Linked DNA regions of Homo sapiens: region 1 is linked to region 2. The links are contacts of gene promoters, found by promoter capture Hi-C in human tissues and cell types (Jung and others, 2019). All regions are on one chromosome and are shown on one strand. The core of a region is centred on a gene start or on the middle of the fragment in contact, and the rest is flanking DNA. Distances in the headings are between cores, read along the strand shown. Region 1 overlaps PA2G4 (proliferation-associated 2G4). Region 2 holds the start of SUOX (sulfite oxidase).

The links. The method cuts DNA at HindIII sites, captures the fragments that hold promoters and counts their contacts. A contact is called where the count stands out against the background at its distance.
Region 1: a contact is called between a fragment that was not itself captured here and the fragment with the promoter of SUOX in region 2, in 3 of the 25 tissues and cell types used here (IMR-90 fibroblasts, bladder and dorsolateral prefrontal cortex).

What each region holds. Positions count from the first base shown.
Region 1 is chr12:56,104,664-56,111,235 of GRCh38, forward strand. It overlaps PA2G4 (proliferation-associated 2G4), which reads left to right. Exons shown (of 13, transcript NM_006191.3): 1 at 1-162; 2 at 1,925-2,053; 3 at 2,327-2,432; 4 at 2,524-2,593; 5 at 2,858-2,950; 6 at 4,567-4,630; 7 at 5,194-5,272; 8 at 5,736-5,814; 9 at 5,896-6,029; 10 at 6,301-6,395; 11 at 6,519-6,572. The coding sequence starts at 75. Among named protein-coding and RNA genes, the nearest start is that of PA2G4, 3.4 kb to the left of the region's middle. RefSeq lists an enhancer at 1-170. The HindIII fragment of the contact is 6,733 bases long and covers 1-6,559 here.
Region 2 is chr12:55,992,065-55,999,211 of GRCh38, forward strand. It overlaps SUOX (sulfite oxidase), which reads left to right and starts at 5,212. Exons shown (of 5, transcript NM_001032386.2): 1 at 5,212-5,275; 2 at 5,551-5,659. It overlaps RAB5B (RAB5B, member RAS oncogene family), which reads left to right. Exons shown (of 6, transcript NM_002868.4): 6 at 33-4,619. The coding sequence ends at 148. RefSeq lists an enhancer at 4,986-5,486 and a silencer at 5,072-5,261. The HindIII fragment of the contact is 9,188 bases long and covers 1-7,147 here.

The DNA.
Region 1 (6,572 bases), core at 1,943-4,442, 110 kb after region 2:
GCCTGTGGCTGGGAAGGGAGACAGAGGCGGCGGCGGCTCAGGGGAAACGAGGCTGCAGTGGTGGTAGTAGGAAGATGTCGGGCGAGGACGAGCAACAGGAGCAAACTATCGCTGAGGACCTGGTCGTGACCAAGTATAAGATGGGGGGCGACATCGCCAACAGTGAGTGCGGCCTCGGGGGTCGGGGAATCAAGGCTGATAGGGAAAGGTAACAGGCTGGCCCGGAAGGGGCTGGAGCGGAGGGGTCATGCGGACTGAGCTACTGAGGGGCCCGCACCGGTCCGCTGGGCACGGCGTGGTGGGAAGACCCGGTGTCGCGCCTGGGACCTGAGCGGGCAGGCCCAGGCTGAAGTCTATGGAGGTGCGGGTCGGCGACCAGGATGAGCGCAGAGAGGGGACCCTGGCAGGCTCCGACCCGAGGCCGTTTGTTAGGAGGCAAGACGTGTTTTCTCTTGTTCCTATCCTTCATTCCCGATTATTGCTTCCTCTGATTCTGGCAGCGGCGAGGCCACCTCGAAAAGGAAGCGCCCAGCTATTGGCGACAGAAGTGCCCCTCTGTTTTTGTAGCGTCTCCGGGGCGTCAGGAGCCAAGCCGGCACGTGTTGCTGGGTCCCATTGCGGATGGCTGGCCCCCTTCTTACTCCGCTAGTGTCCCTGACACCAGCTTCCCCACCACCAGCTTCCCCACCACGTGCTTTGCTGGAGCCTTTCCTTCTTTACTTCAGCTCTTACCCTGGTGGGGGCCCCCTTCTACCTTGGGCCAGCTAAGGAGACCGTTGGAGAGCACTCCTGGAGCTTCTAATGCAAGTCTTGGAGATATATATGGCTTTTCTTGAAGTTACTCATTACTACCACCTTTCCAATCTGTGCAGATAGTCTTAGTTAGCATTCACATTTGTTGTTCTCAGTGACTTGACAACTCAAATGTTTTGGGGTCTCCGTCTTATCCCAACTAGGCAAGCTTGTGAACATTACTGGAAAAGGGAGGACTGATTTTAGGATTTTCACAAGTCATCCTTACTCCAGGTGTGCTCTGACGATCTCAGCAGTTGCCTGTCACTCTAGGCAGATGCCACTTTCTCTTTTCTCTCTTTCCAGTTAGCCTTTCCATTTTATTCCAGTTAGGGAGATACAAACTGCTTGTCATTGTGCTTTTAAATGGTTTTAACAGCAAAGATGGTGGGGAACAGGTATTTAGGATGCCTCCCGTCCTGTGGGTGAAAATCTGAGTTTTACCAGCTTTCAAAGAATCACCAAAACTGAGATACCAAAAGTCAAACCTGTGCTTTATATCACAGTGGACATTTAGTATCGTACCCTGGTTTTTGGTGCCTTTTAGTATTTGAGATACTAGTGGTTTGAATCAGAAAATCTCTTACAGTTTATAACTTTGGCCTCATATTTCTTTTAGATAAGCCATGATCCCCCGAAATGAAACCCAGGGACCTTAGATTAAGTTTCCTTGGCTTATGCACTTGTTTATGAGGAAATAAGTCTATATAGATTGAGATTCCTAACACCTAATTAGAGTGTCTGAGAAAGGAATGCGGTAACATTTAACAGTGCATCGGCTTCGAGTCAGCAATTCTGTCTACCTTCTTGTCCCTGATGCCTATAAATTTCATCTAGTCTTTGCGTGTATGTGGGGATACCATGGCAAGAACCCTCTGAAGTTCATAACTCTGTCCTGTCACACCAAAGGTAGCATCTTTGGAAAGTCTGAGGCCTTGCCTAGGGAGATGGATTGTATATACCCAGTTGTCACATAATGTAAGGAAGAGAAGGGAATGTTGACCTTTCAGCCTCAGGGCAATGGCACCAGGGAGTATTATGGAAACTCTTAAATTCAACTTCCAGGTATTCCTTGGGTGGTAACTAGACAATGAATACATACAAGGCTGACATGATGGGATTCTGTCCTCAGGGGTACTTCGGTCCTTGGTGGAAGCATCTAGCTCAGGTGTGTCGGTACTGAGCCTGTGTGAGAAAGGTGATGCCATGATTATGGAAGAAACAGGGAAAATCTTCAAGAAAGAAAAGGAAATGAAGAAAGGTAAAAAAAAAAAATCCCTCACTAATTTTCCGTTTGACCCTTATTTGGTCCTATATGTTTTTATTTTTTTCACTGTAATGACGCAGTCCCCACCCCAGCTCTGGCTGAGGTATTTGGAAATTTGGAATGGCAAGTGGGATACAAGCAGTTTCCTACCTAATCCAAACTGATGAAACTTAAGCAAGACCCTGAAAAAATCCTTCTACATTTCTGAAGGGCACTAGGGCTCCCGGGAGACAGCAAGGCAGTAGGCTGATGATTCTTTCTTTACAGGTATTGCTTTTCCCACCAGCATTTCGGTAAATAACTGTGTATGTCACTTCTCCCCTTTGAAGAGCGACCAGGATTATATTCTCAAGGAAGGTGACTTGGTAAAAATGTAAGGTTAAACCGTTTTAAAGCATTTTTCTTTTTTTAAAGCATTTACAAAATGCCAGTTCCTAATGCAGTACTCTGATCTTGCCTTTCAGTGACCTTGGGGTCCATGTGGATGGCTTCATCGCTAATGTAGCTCACACTTTTGTGGTTGATGTAGCTCAGGTAGGTGGCCTGCTTTTGATCTCTGTTTAGCCTTGGGGTAGAGGGAATGCACTGCCATTTGCTTCTTATCCCCACCCCCAATCACCACGTAAGTTGAGAGAGTCTCTAGAGAAGCAAAAGGAGAAAGGTTTTTGTTGTTGTTGTTGTTTTTACCCTCCTGTTCATTGGCTGGTCTTCGCATATGGGCTCACAGATATTAACCAGATAGCCAGCTGAGTTAACAGACTTTCCAGGAAGATACTGATTGCATGTCCTTATCTACAGGGGACCCAAGTAACAGGGAGGAAAGCAGATGTTATTAAGGCAGCTCACCTTTGTGCTGAAGCTGCCCTACGCCTGGTCAAACCTGGAAATCAGGTAAGCTATTTTATCCAATTCCAAAGCTCGTTTGAACCAAAGATGCATTAGGCACCTATAGCTACTCTATATGAAACTACCAACCTCCCCTACAGACCCCTTATAAAACAGCTTTTTAAAATTAGCTATATTTAGCTGGGCACAGTGACTCACATCTGTAATCCCATCACTTTGGGGGGCCAAGGTAGGAGGATAGCTTGAGGCTGGGAGTTCAAGACCAGCCTGGGAAACATGGTGAAACCCCATTTCTACAAAAAATACAAAAATTAGCTGGGCGTGGTAACATGTGCCTGTATTCCCAGCTTCCAGGGAGGCTGAGGTGGGAGAATCACCTGAGCCTGGGAGATTGAGGCTGTGCTGAGCTATGATCATGCCACTGCACTCCAGCCTGGGCAACAATGAAACCCTGTCTCACAAAAGAAAAAGGAAAAATAAGCATTTGCTGTCCCCACAAAACAGATTAGAATGCCAGGTAAAAAAGGATAAACACTGGACTTAATATTATAGGCATGTGGTGGCACATGCCTGTAATCCCAGCACTTTGGGAGGCCAAGGTGGGAGGATTGCTTGAACCCAGGCATTTGAGACCAGCTTGGGAAACATAGCGAGACCCGTCTACAAAAAGAAAAAAGAAAACCCAGGTTTATGACCAAGTTCTTTCACTTAACACTCATTTAACCTGGGGCAAATCATTTAACCTGAGACTCAGTTTCCTTGTCTTCTAGATTGGGATATACATCTGCCCTGTTCACATGCAAAATTTATTGAGTTAGACCATCTTTGTGAAAGCACTGGGTAAAATGATATGCAGTTACAGCTGGTCCTCAGCTTGATGCTACATTCAGTAGAAGCTATACTTTGAGTACCCATACAACCATTCTGTTTTTCATTTTCCATATAGTATTTAGTAAATTACATGAGATATTCAACACTAATATAAAATAGGCATGTGTTAGATAATTCTGCCCAACTGTAGGATAATGTTTTTTAAGTGCTCTGAGCACATTTAACATAGGCTAGGCTGTGATGTTAGGTAGGTTAGGGGTATTAAATGCATTTTTGACTTAGTGATATTTTCAACTTATGAGTTTTTTGGAGATGTAACCCCATTGCAAGTTGGGGAGCATCTGTATAAAGTATTTTTAGATTGTAGGGATAATCAAGCTATGAAATGAAAAACCAGTGAATGACAATCATTGGGGCTTGATGGAGGATATTAGAACGCTCAGTTCTGCCAGGTGCAATGGCTCATGCCTGTAATCCCAGCACTTTGGGAGGCTGAGGTGGGCAGATCACGAGGTCAGGAGATCGAGACCATCCTGGCCAACATGGTGAAACCCCGTCTCTTCTAAAAATACAAAAATTAGCTGGGCGTGGTGTTGCGTGCCTGTAATCCCAGCTACTCAGGAGGCTGAGGCAGGAGAATAGCTTGAACCCGGGAGGCAGAGATTGCAGTGAGCCAAGATCACGCCACTGCACTCCAGCCTGGTGACAAAGCCAGACTCCATCTCAAAAAAAAAAAAAAAAACGCTCAGTTCTTTTATGCTTCTTATTCTCATTGTAGAGAACTTATTAGCTCCTGATATCTCACCTTTCATTTGATGTTGTACTTCTAGAACACACAAGTGACAGAAGCCTGGAACAAAGTTGCCCACTCATTTAACTGCACGCCAATAGAAGGTGAGAACAGATAACAGGGTTGAGGGTCTAAGAATGAGTGGCTTTGCCAGGTGCGGTGGCTCACGCCTGTAATCCCAGAACTTTGGGAGGCTGAGGTGGGCGGATCACCTGAGGTCAGGAGTTTGAGACTAGCCTGGCCAACATGGTGAAACCCCGTCTCTACTAAAAATATAAAAATTAGCTGGGCGTGGTGGTGGGTGCCTGTAATCCCAGCTACTTGGGAGGCTAAGGCGAGATAATCGCTTGAACCCGGGAGGAGGAGGTTGCAGTGAGCCAAGATTGCGCCACTGCACTCCAGTCTGGGCAATAAGAGCGAAACTCCATCTCCTCCATCTCAAAAAAAAAAAAAAAAAGAATGAGTGGCTTTGCAGAATTGAGGCTTTTGCTCCCTTGAAGATCTATCCTGGCTATAACCCAGTCTAAGCCAGAAATCTCAGAGCCCTGTGTTTCCATAACCAGGTAGTTGTCTCACTGCCTACCACTTCAAACTACTGAAGTGGGTGGATTTGGAAACCTTTTGGGATACTGGATAGCTTGTTCCATAGGTTGTGTACTATCTACAGGTATGCTGTCACACCAGTTGAAGCAGCATGTCATCGATGGAGAAAAAACCATTATCCAGAATCCCACAGACCAGCAGAAGTAGGTGCCAACCCTACTTATTACCTTCTACCACACAAGACTAGTCATCAGGTTTTTTTCTATACTCCCAACTGAATCTTGTCCGCCCTCTACTCCATGTTTTCAGGAGTGACCTGTTGCTCTTAATATTCCCTTTCTCTAGGCCGGGCGCGGTGGCTCACGCCTGTAATCCCAGCACTTTGGGAGGCTGAGGCGGGTGGATCACCTGAGGTCACGAGTTCAGAACCAGCCTAACCAACATGGCGAAACCCTGTCTCTACTAAAAACTACAAAAATGAGCCAGGCCTGGTGGTTTGTGCCTATAGTCCCAGCTACTTGGGAGGCTGAGGCAGGAGAGTTGCTTGGACCCGGGAGGTGGAGGTTGCAGTGAGCTGAGATTGTGCCACTGCACTCCAGCCTGGGTGACAGAATGAGACTCTGTGTCAAAAAAAAAAAAAAATTCCTTTCTCTCTATTCCTTTTAGGAAGGACCATGAAAAAGCTGAATTTGAGGTACATGAAGTATATGCTGTGGATGTTCTCGTCAGCTCAGGAGAGGGCAAGGTGAGGAGAGTACCAGAGTTGGCAAAGAGGGGTGACTGAGAGTGTTCACCAGACCAAATGTTACTTAAATTACTCTTTCAGGCCAAGGATGCAGGACAGAGAACCACTATTTACAAACGAGACCCCTCTAAACAGTATGGACTGAAAATGAAAACTTCACGTGCCTTCTTCAGTGAGGTGGAAAGGCGTTTTGATGCCATGCCGTTTACTTTAAGGTACTAAGCAATGATAGTACTTGGAACCAGTCTGACTCACAGACCATACACCCAGGAACACTTTTTCCTCTCCCTTCCTGCCTAGACTTGTAGCGTGCATGTGCTCACTCCCTCCCTCTCTCTCCCCATCTCCTTCTCATTGAAGGTAATGTAAAAGAGCAATCCTAAGCATGATTTCTGCCTGAGGGTAGGAGCTATTTTAAAATATGAGCAAAATGGTAAGACTTGATGGGGAGTTAAAGATACCTCTGAATATCATCTTCCCTGCCAGAGCATTTGAAGATGAGAAGAAGGCTCGGATGGGTGTGGTGGAGTGCGCCAAACATGAACTGCTGCAACCATTTAATGTTCTCTATGAGAAGGAGGGTGAGTTCCAAAAAGAGCTTCACTTTGGATTCCCTGATTATAAGATATCCTTCCTGTAAGTTCAGAAGAGCTAAGTATGACAAAGGAACTTTTTATCAAAACACATCTTCATTTTTGCCATAGGTGAATTTGTTGCCCAGTTTAAATTTACAGTTCTGCTCATGCCCAATGGCCCCA
Region 2 (7,147 bases), core at 3,962-6,461:
CATACTTTGTTCTCTTCTCTTTTTATCTCTAGCTAAGAAGTTGCCAAAGAGTGAACCCCAGAATCTGGGAGGTGCAGCAGGCCGAAGCCGGGGTGTGGATCTCCATGAACAGTCCCAGCAGAACAAGAGCCAGTGTTGTAGCAACTGAGGGGGTGGCTAGCAGCAAACAAGTATGGAGCTAGCACAAGAGCTAAGAAATAACCTCCATCCCTACCCCTCAGCACACAACCCCTACGGTAACAGCACACTGAGCCCTGGCTCCCAAGGGCTGCCTCCTGACAGCTCCGTCATGGCACTTTTTAACGCTTCAGCAACAAACACCAGGCAGCTGTTGCCACTGGCCTCCTACCCCCTACTCTGGGGCTTGGGGGTCAACTCCCCCCAGGACTTACCTTCCAAAACAAACTTTCTTCACTTTGTATTATAGGTACAAGACAGCGACTTACGTATCTTTTCTCCTCCTCCCTAGTGTTCCTCCCCATTTTTTCAGAAAACACTTCTGACTCCTGTCCCTTCCCCTTCTGCTTTTGGTCAGTCCCTGTTCTTGAGCCTCTTTTCTCCTCTCCCCAGGATGCAGAAAGTGGTGAACCCAGGAACTGAGGAAGGAGGTTTCCAGTTCATTTACATTAAGGGCCCTGGGGGAGAATAAAGCTCAGAGCAGGAGGGAGTAAGGAAACATTTCCTTTTTGTTTTTATTTGGTTGGAGTTTCTCATATTTGAAAACATTGCGGTATCCATGATTTGGCCTTGTGGAGGGTGTTCCTAGGTAGAGGTGAGAATGGGGAGGCAAGATCTCAGGCACCAGGCAGGAGGTGCCTTGTAAGCTAACTGGGCGGAGGTGGAGGTGCAGTGTCAACTGTGGCTCTGTAACTCTTCAAAGGCCCAGTTTCCCCTCACGCAGCCTCTTAGGTAGCGTTTCCCCTAATCGTGGGGGTTGGACCCCAGAGTCTTCCAAAGAATTTTCACTGGTTGCCTGCATCTTTGGCTCTGCTGTGATCTGATTGGAGGAGGGACAGTTTCTGGTACCCATCCTCTGATTTATACATATGCATTTTTTCCCCTCTGGCCTTTAGATGGCCTCAGCCCCAGCCACCATATACCCCTGCAGTTTGCACTTTAATTGATGGTAGTTCAGTTGGGGTACTTGTTTTATGGAAGTTTTGATTGATTTACTTGCCCTCCCACCTTCTTTTTAATTCAATGAAATCTGAGGTTAATGCGAGGTTCGAGGAGAGGTTATAGATAAAACTACCAGTGGCAGCTACTCAAGTCCTATCTCCACTGTTAGCTTCCTCCAACTCTAATTATTAACCTATATTCTTGCCAAGCTAACTATTGACTATAGGTTTGCCTTTCCTGGAGAATTAATTGAGCAATTGAGGAGTGTCTCAGGATAGCACAGGCCAAGGTAGGGGAGTAAAAAGGAGGTCAGGCAAAAGGGAGGAGTTTTCTGTCCTTTCCCAGGTTTCACACTCAATTTGATATCCATTACCATGTCTTTTCTACTTCCTTGTAAATAGGTATGATCTTTATTCCCACTGTACAGTCTGTTCTATCCTCTGCCTCCCATCAGGCCCTGTTTCTTTGTTCCTTTGTTAATATCTTGAATTTAGTCCCTCCATCCTTAATCCCCCCATCCCTCCCCATCATGCAACCAGTGGTTTAATCCATGTACCAATAGGGGCTAGTACCACAGAGGCCTCCTGTGGTGCCCTCGTATCATACCACCTGTTCCTGTGGAGAGGGAATGACCGGCACTGAAGGTACCTTACAACTGGCTCATATTATCAGAGGACCTTGGTCCTTTCTAAATCTCTAGTCTCTCTTCATATCCTTCATCAGGTGTTTTAAGATGTCTCTGAGAAGCCATCAAGGCAAAAGAGAACTTTAAGTTCCTTGTTCCAGCCCGGAGTTTTGGGAAAGAAAGAAAGGAAAGGTCACAGTGACCTAGGATTGGAACCTTCCTGCCCTTTTGGCTTGCAGACTGCCTTCTATCCCAGAACAGCTGAGAAATCTATGAAGCTGAGATTCTGAAGGACCCAGCTTAGGTTCTTCCACTTAGGCCTCAATTCCCTTCCTTTTCCAGGGGCAGCCTTAGTTCCCATGGCCCTGAAACACACACATTTCCCCCTTCCTTTCCCAGAAGCCACTGGCCCCCCATAGCACCCAGTGCATCCTTTTTACAAGTGGAAGAACTAGGATGGCTTTCCAAAGTCTTCTAGAAATGAAGTTCTTTCTCTGTGCAGCTTTCCCCCTTGGAGCAGGAGTGAAGATGTTTCATTATCTTGGGCCTGGGAAACCACTTCCCCAGGCTTCTCCCTCCCCCCACCCCCATAGGAACAGGATTTGGCCTTAGCTTCTGGGCCTATCGGCTGCCTTCCCTCTACTTCCTACCACCTCTTCTGCCTTCCTTTGAGCTCTGTTGGGCTTGGGGATCTTAGTTTTCTTTTGTTTATTTCCCAGCTCATTTTTTTCTTCTGGTCAGTTTTTTTAAGGGGGGGTGTTGTGGTTTTTTGTTTTTGTTTTGCTTCTGAGAAAGCATTTGCCTTTCTTCCTCTCCCAACATAACAATCGTGGTAACAGAATGCGACTGCTGATTTACCGATGTATTTAATGTAAGTAAAAAAAGGAAAAAAAGAAAAGGGCATTGGAGTGTTGCTTTTTTTTATTTTATTGTTATTATTATTATTATTTTTGCTATTTGTCAGGTACTAGGAATTTGGAAGAAAGGATACCCAGTAATGTTCTACTGAATCAGAAACACACCTTTCCCTGCATCTTGATACATCTTTATTCCCTTTAATCTTTTCTTAAACATCTAGTTTAGAAAATAGCCCTTCTATTGCTATTTAATCACCCCTCTTCTAAGGCCACTAGATTGTTCATCAAATCAAACCCTATTATATCTTTTTAGGCCCTCTTAACAGAATGTATATGTGTAGGGTATGGTCTGTGGATCTTTGGGCCCACTGATCAGATTAGAGAGAGGGGTGCTATTTGAAGTAGTATACAAAAATGTATGTGCATATTTCTTTTTTTTTTTTTAATTGAGACGGAGTCTCTGTCGCTAGCCTGGAGTACAGTGGCACGATCTTGGCTCACAGCAATCTCCGCCTCCTGAGTTCAAGTGATTCTCCTGCCTCAGCCTCCTGAGTAGCTAGGATTACAGGCACGCACCAACACACCCAGCTAATTTTTGTATTTTTAGTAGAGACGGGGTTTCACCATGTTGGTCAGGCTGGTCTTGAACTCCTGACCTCGTGATCCACCCACCTTGGCCTCCCAAAGTGCTGGGATTACGGGCGTGAGCCACTGCGCCCGGCCGTATGTGCATATTTCTAGGATCCATTTCTATATGTTTCTCAAAGGGGTCCATGACCCAAAGGTTGAAAAACATCACTGAGTTAGTTTTCTTGTAGCTTCCACCTCAACGGGAAAATTTCCTCTGGATCTGCTCTTGACTCCTAGTGTACTTCAAACCCTTCAGTCCACCACAGTCTAAAGGTCGAGGGAAGGGAAATGAAATAGGATTATGTGTGGTTGCAGTAGGCTTTAAATTCCAAAGAATCTGAAGGTGGATAGGAAAGAGGACTGGTGCCAGACAAATCTGACATTCTAGGCCTGTCTCTGTCAACTTAACCAGCTGTGGCCTTGATCAAGTTAGTTAGTGCCTTCCGCCTCGTTTCTTCATCTGTAAAGTAAAAGCTGAAGATTAAGGTCAATTATGTAAAGTATGTGTGTCACACAAAAGTAGATGACACTATTAGGAAGGAGGCTTTTAGATAGTCCCTAACTGACTTCTCTGTATCTTCCTTTGGCTGAGACTTTTTTTTTTTTAGGTTGAAGCTCGCTTTCTCTCTCTCTCCCTCTTTCTCCCTCTCTCTCTCTCTCTCACTCTCTCTCTCTCCATATATATATACATATATATATATATATATATTTTTTTTTTAACAACTGGTAGGATAGGTTGGGCATTAGCCTTCTTCAGTGATTTGATTGTATACAGATTGAAATCCTTTCCATTTCCAAACACTTAAGAGCCAAAGCCAACTTGCCAACTTTTCACTGTCGGTTCCCTTACCTTATATCTCTTGGTAATACCCCCCACCCCCGTTCCCTGATTCCTGGTAAAAGCTCTAGTTGGAGAGCCGAAAGGAAAGGAAATGATCTTTCAAAATTAAAGGTGAACACCTTCACTTAAACTGATTAAAATTGCAGCTCCACCGTCCGGCCTCTAGAGGGCAGTGTATGGATACATTTGTCCAGATTGGGGGACTAGGTTTGATAAATTTTGTCCTGCATCAAATGACAAAAGGGTAATAGGAAATGTATTATATTTATGCCCCTTACTTTGAGATAAGAGACTACAACCTTCATACTTCGGGGTGTTAAGCTGCCATTGCTCTTGTTAAGGGGCAGTTTGTTTTTTAAGAGATGGGGTCTTGCTCTGTTGTCCAGGCTGGAGTGCAGTGCCGCGATCTTGGCTCAGTGCAACCTCGAACTCCTGGGCTTAAGCGATCCTCCCGCCTCAGCCTCCCGAGTACTGGGACTACAGGCGTGTGCCACCAAGGGGCGATTATTATTTTTTTTTTCTACGCAAAATAAAAGACGGCTATTCAGTGTTGTTGTTTCATTTTTGTTTGGGGAGAAATTCGACTAGCCCAAGGAATCTCAAATTCTTGGAACCACTATTTTAGGCATTTCTGTTATCATTCCTGGAATACGAGAACTAAGCGATTGACTTTGCTTTCCCTAAAAGATAAACAGGGTAGTTGTAGTTGCAACAGAGTAGATAGAGGTAGGTCTACCCTGGGTTTAAAGTGGAGATCACAGCCGGGGAAAACCGGACTGGATCCCGAGGCCTCCTCCAGGGAGGGGCGGCAGGGGTGTCTCAAAATCTCCCACCTGTCAGCCCAACTTTTGGATTCCTTGTCACCTTCCACACTGCCCGAGCTCCGGACATACAGCCCTGGTGCACAAGGGTCCCATTCTTTGCACACCAGGGGTATAATGGACTCCGGACTGTTGGCGAGAGTGACAGCAAAAAGAGCCAGCCTCTTCTCCCAGGCTTCTTAGCAACCTGCCTGTCTCGGCTCCAGGAGGCGGGTTCCAGCCAATGGTTGAGCCACCCGCTTCCAGCCAATGGCTGAGGGATAAGCTGAGGGGAGTGAGAGGTCACTTACTGCAGCCGGACATAACGGCGCTGGCCCCGCCCCTTCTCGAGAACTCGCAGAGCTGGGCTGGTAAAATTGCAGTGCTGAAGACACTGGACCCGGTAAGGAGACTGGGGGTGGTAAAGAAGCTGGGGAGGAAGGGCTGCTGAGCTGGGCAGCGGAGGGGGCCTTGGTGTCCAGCTGTGCTCCGAACCTCAAGGGCAACAAAACTATCAGTACCTGCCTCCACTCCTTCTGTCTGGGTGCTCTTGAGATCGCGGGGTGTTGCCGCAAGACCCTTTTGTGCCTGGATGCCGGACGTATGTTCCTACCTAACGTGCCCATGGGGAGTGAGGGGTCATCACCTGCACCAACGGGTGGCATTTCTGTATTACAGCAAAAGGCTGTCCCTCCCAAACCTGGGATTCTGGGCTCACTGAGTTCACCTGCGAGTCAGCCCTACCTGCACTGCTCTGGTCTAGTACAAACAGGCTGCTGGCATTGAGGTAGGTGGCAGAGAGAGTAATGGTCCCATGGCCCAGGGGCAAGGTGAAGACTGCTCCTATTCCCATCTCTAGGTTTCCTTTCCTCCCTACCCACGACCCACCCACCCCAGCACATTGGTCTCCAGCATCTCATCAGCAGTTTAGACATTTGTCACCCCTCCTCACTTTGGCCCTGCTGGGTCAGTGCTCTCTGTTCAGCAATTTGAGGAAGAAACTTGCAGGGCAGAGAGCAGAAAAATTACCTTCCTTCTCCAGCCTGCCCCTGACACTCTGGCCATTAACTCCTCAATTTGCTGAGCTCACTACAGTGGCACAGAGAAGATTGAGGTGGTCCGGGACCCTAGGTTGGGGTCCAGTTCCCAGCTGGGTTCAATTTTTTTTAGGGTGAATGGAGGGAGAGTTGGGGACTGAAAAGCCTTCAAAGACAATGTTATTACAGCAGTCTCCCCTTATCCAAAGTTTCCTTTTCCTGAGTTTCAGTTAGCTATGGTCAACCGCTTGGAAAATAGTTGAACACAGTACAATAAGATATTTTGAGGCTGGGAGTGGTGGCTCATGCCTGTAATAATCCCAGGACTTTGTGAGACCAAGTTTGAAGGATCACTTGAACCCAGGAGTTTGAGACCAGCCTGGGCAACATAGTAAGACCTCATCTCTACAAAAAAAAAAAAAAAAAGACCATGCATGGTGGCACACGCCTGTGGTCCCCGCTACTCAGGAGGTTGAGGCAGGAGGATGGCTTGAGCCCAGAAGTTTGATGCTATAGTGAGCTGAGATCACGCCACTGCACTCCAGCCTGGGCAGAGCAAGACCCTGTCAGGGGCAGGGGGAGGGGAGGGGAAGCCGGACAGTGGCTCATGCCTGTAATCCCAGCACTTTGGGGGCTAAGGCAGCAAGAGGCCAGGAGTTCAAGACCAGCCCTGACAACATAGACTCCCATGTCTACAGAAAAATTAGCCAGGCTTGGTGACACACACTTGTAGTCCCAGCTGCTGGGGAGGCTAAGGCAGGAGGATGGCTTGAGCCCAAGAGGTTGAAGCTTCAGTGAGCCATGATCGACACTTGCTCCATCGCCCAGGCTTTTTTTTTTTTTGAGACAAGGTCTTGCCCTGTTGCCCAGGCTGGAGTACGGTGGCGCCATCATAATTCATTGCAGTCTCGACCTCCTGGACTCAAGCCATCCTCTCATCTCAGCACTCCTCTCCCCACCACCCCGGTAGCTGAGACTACAGACAGGCACCACCATGCCCAGTTAATTTGTTTTTTTTTTTCTAGAGACACAGTCTCACTATGTTGCCCAAGCTGGTCTTGAACTCCTGGAGTCAAGTGATCCTCCTTCCTTGGCCTCCCAAAATTTTGGGATTATAGGCATGAGCCACCATGACTGGCCAAAAAAAAGTATATTTTGAGAGAGAGACCACATTCATATAACTTTTTTTTGTTTTTGTTTTGAGACAGGGTCTCGCTCTCTGTTGCCCAAGCTGAAGT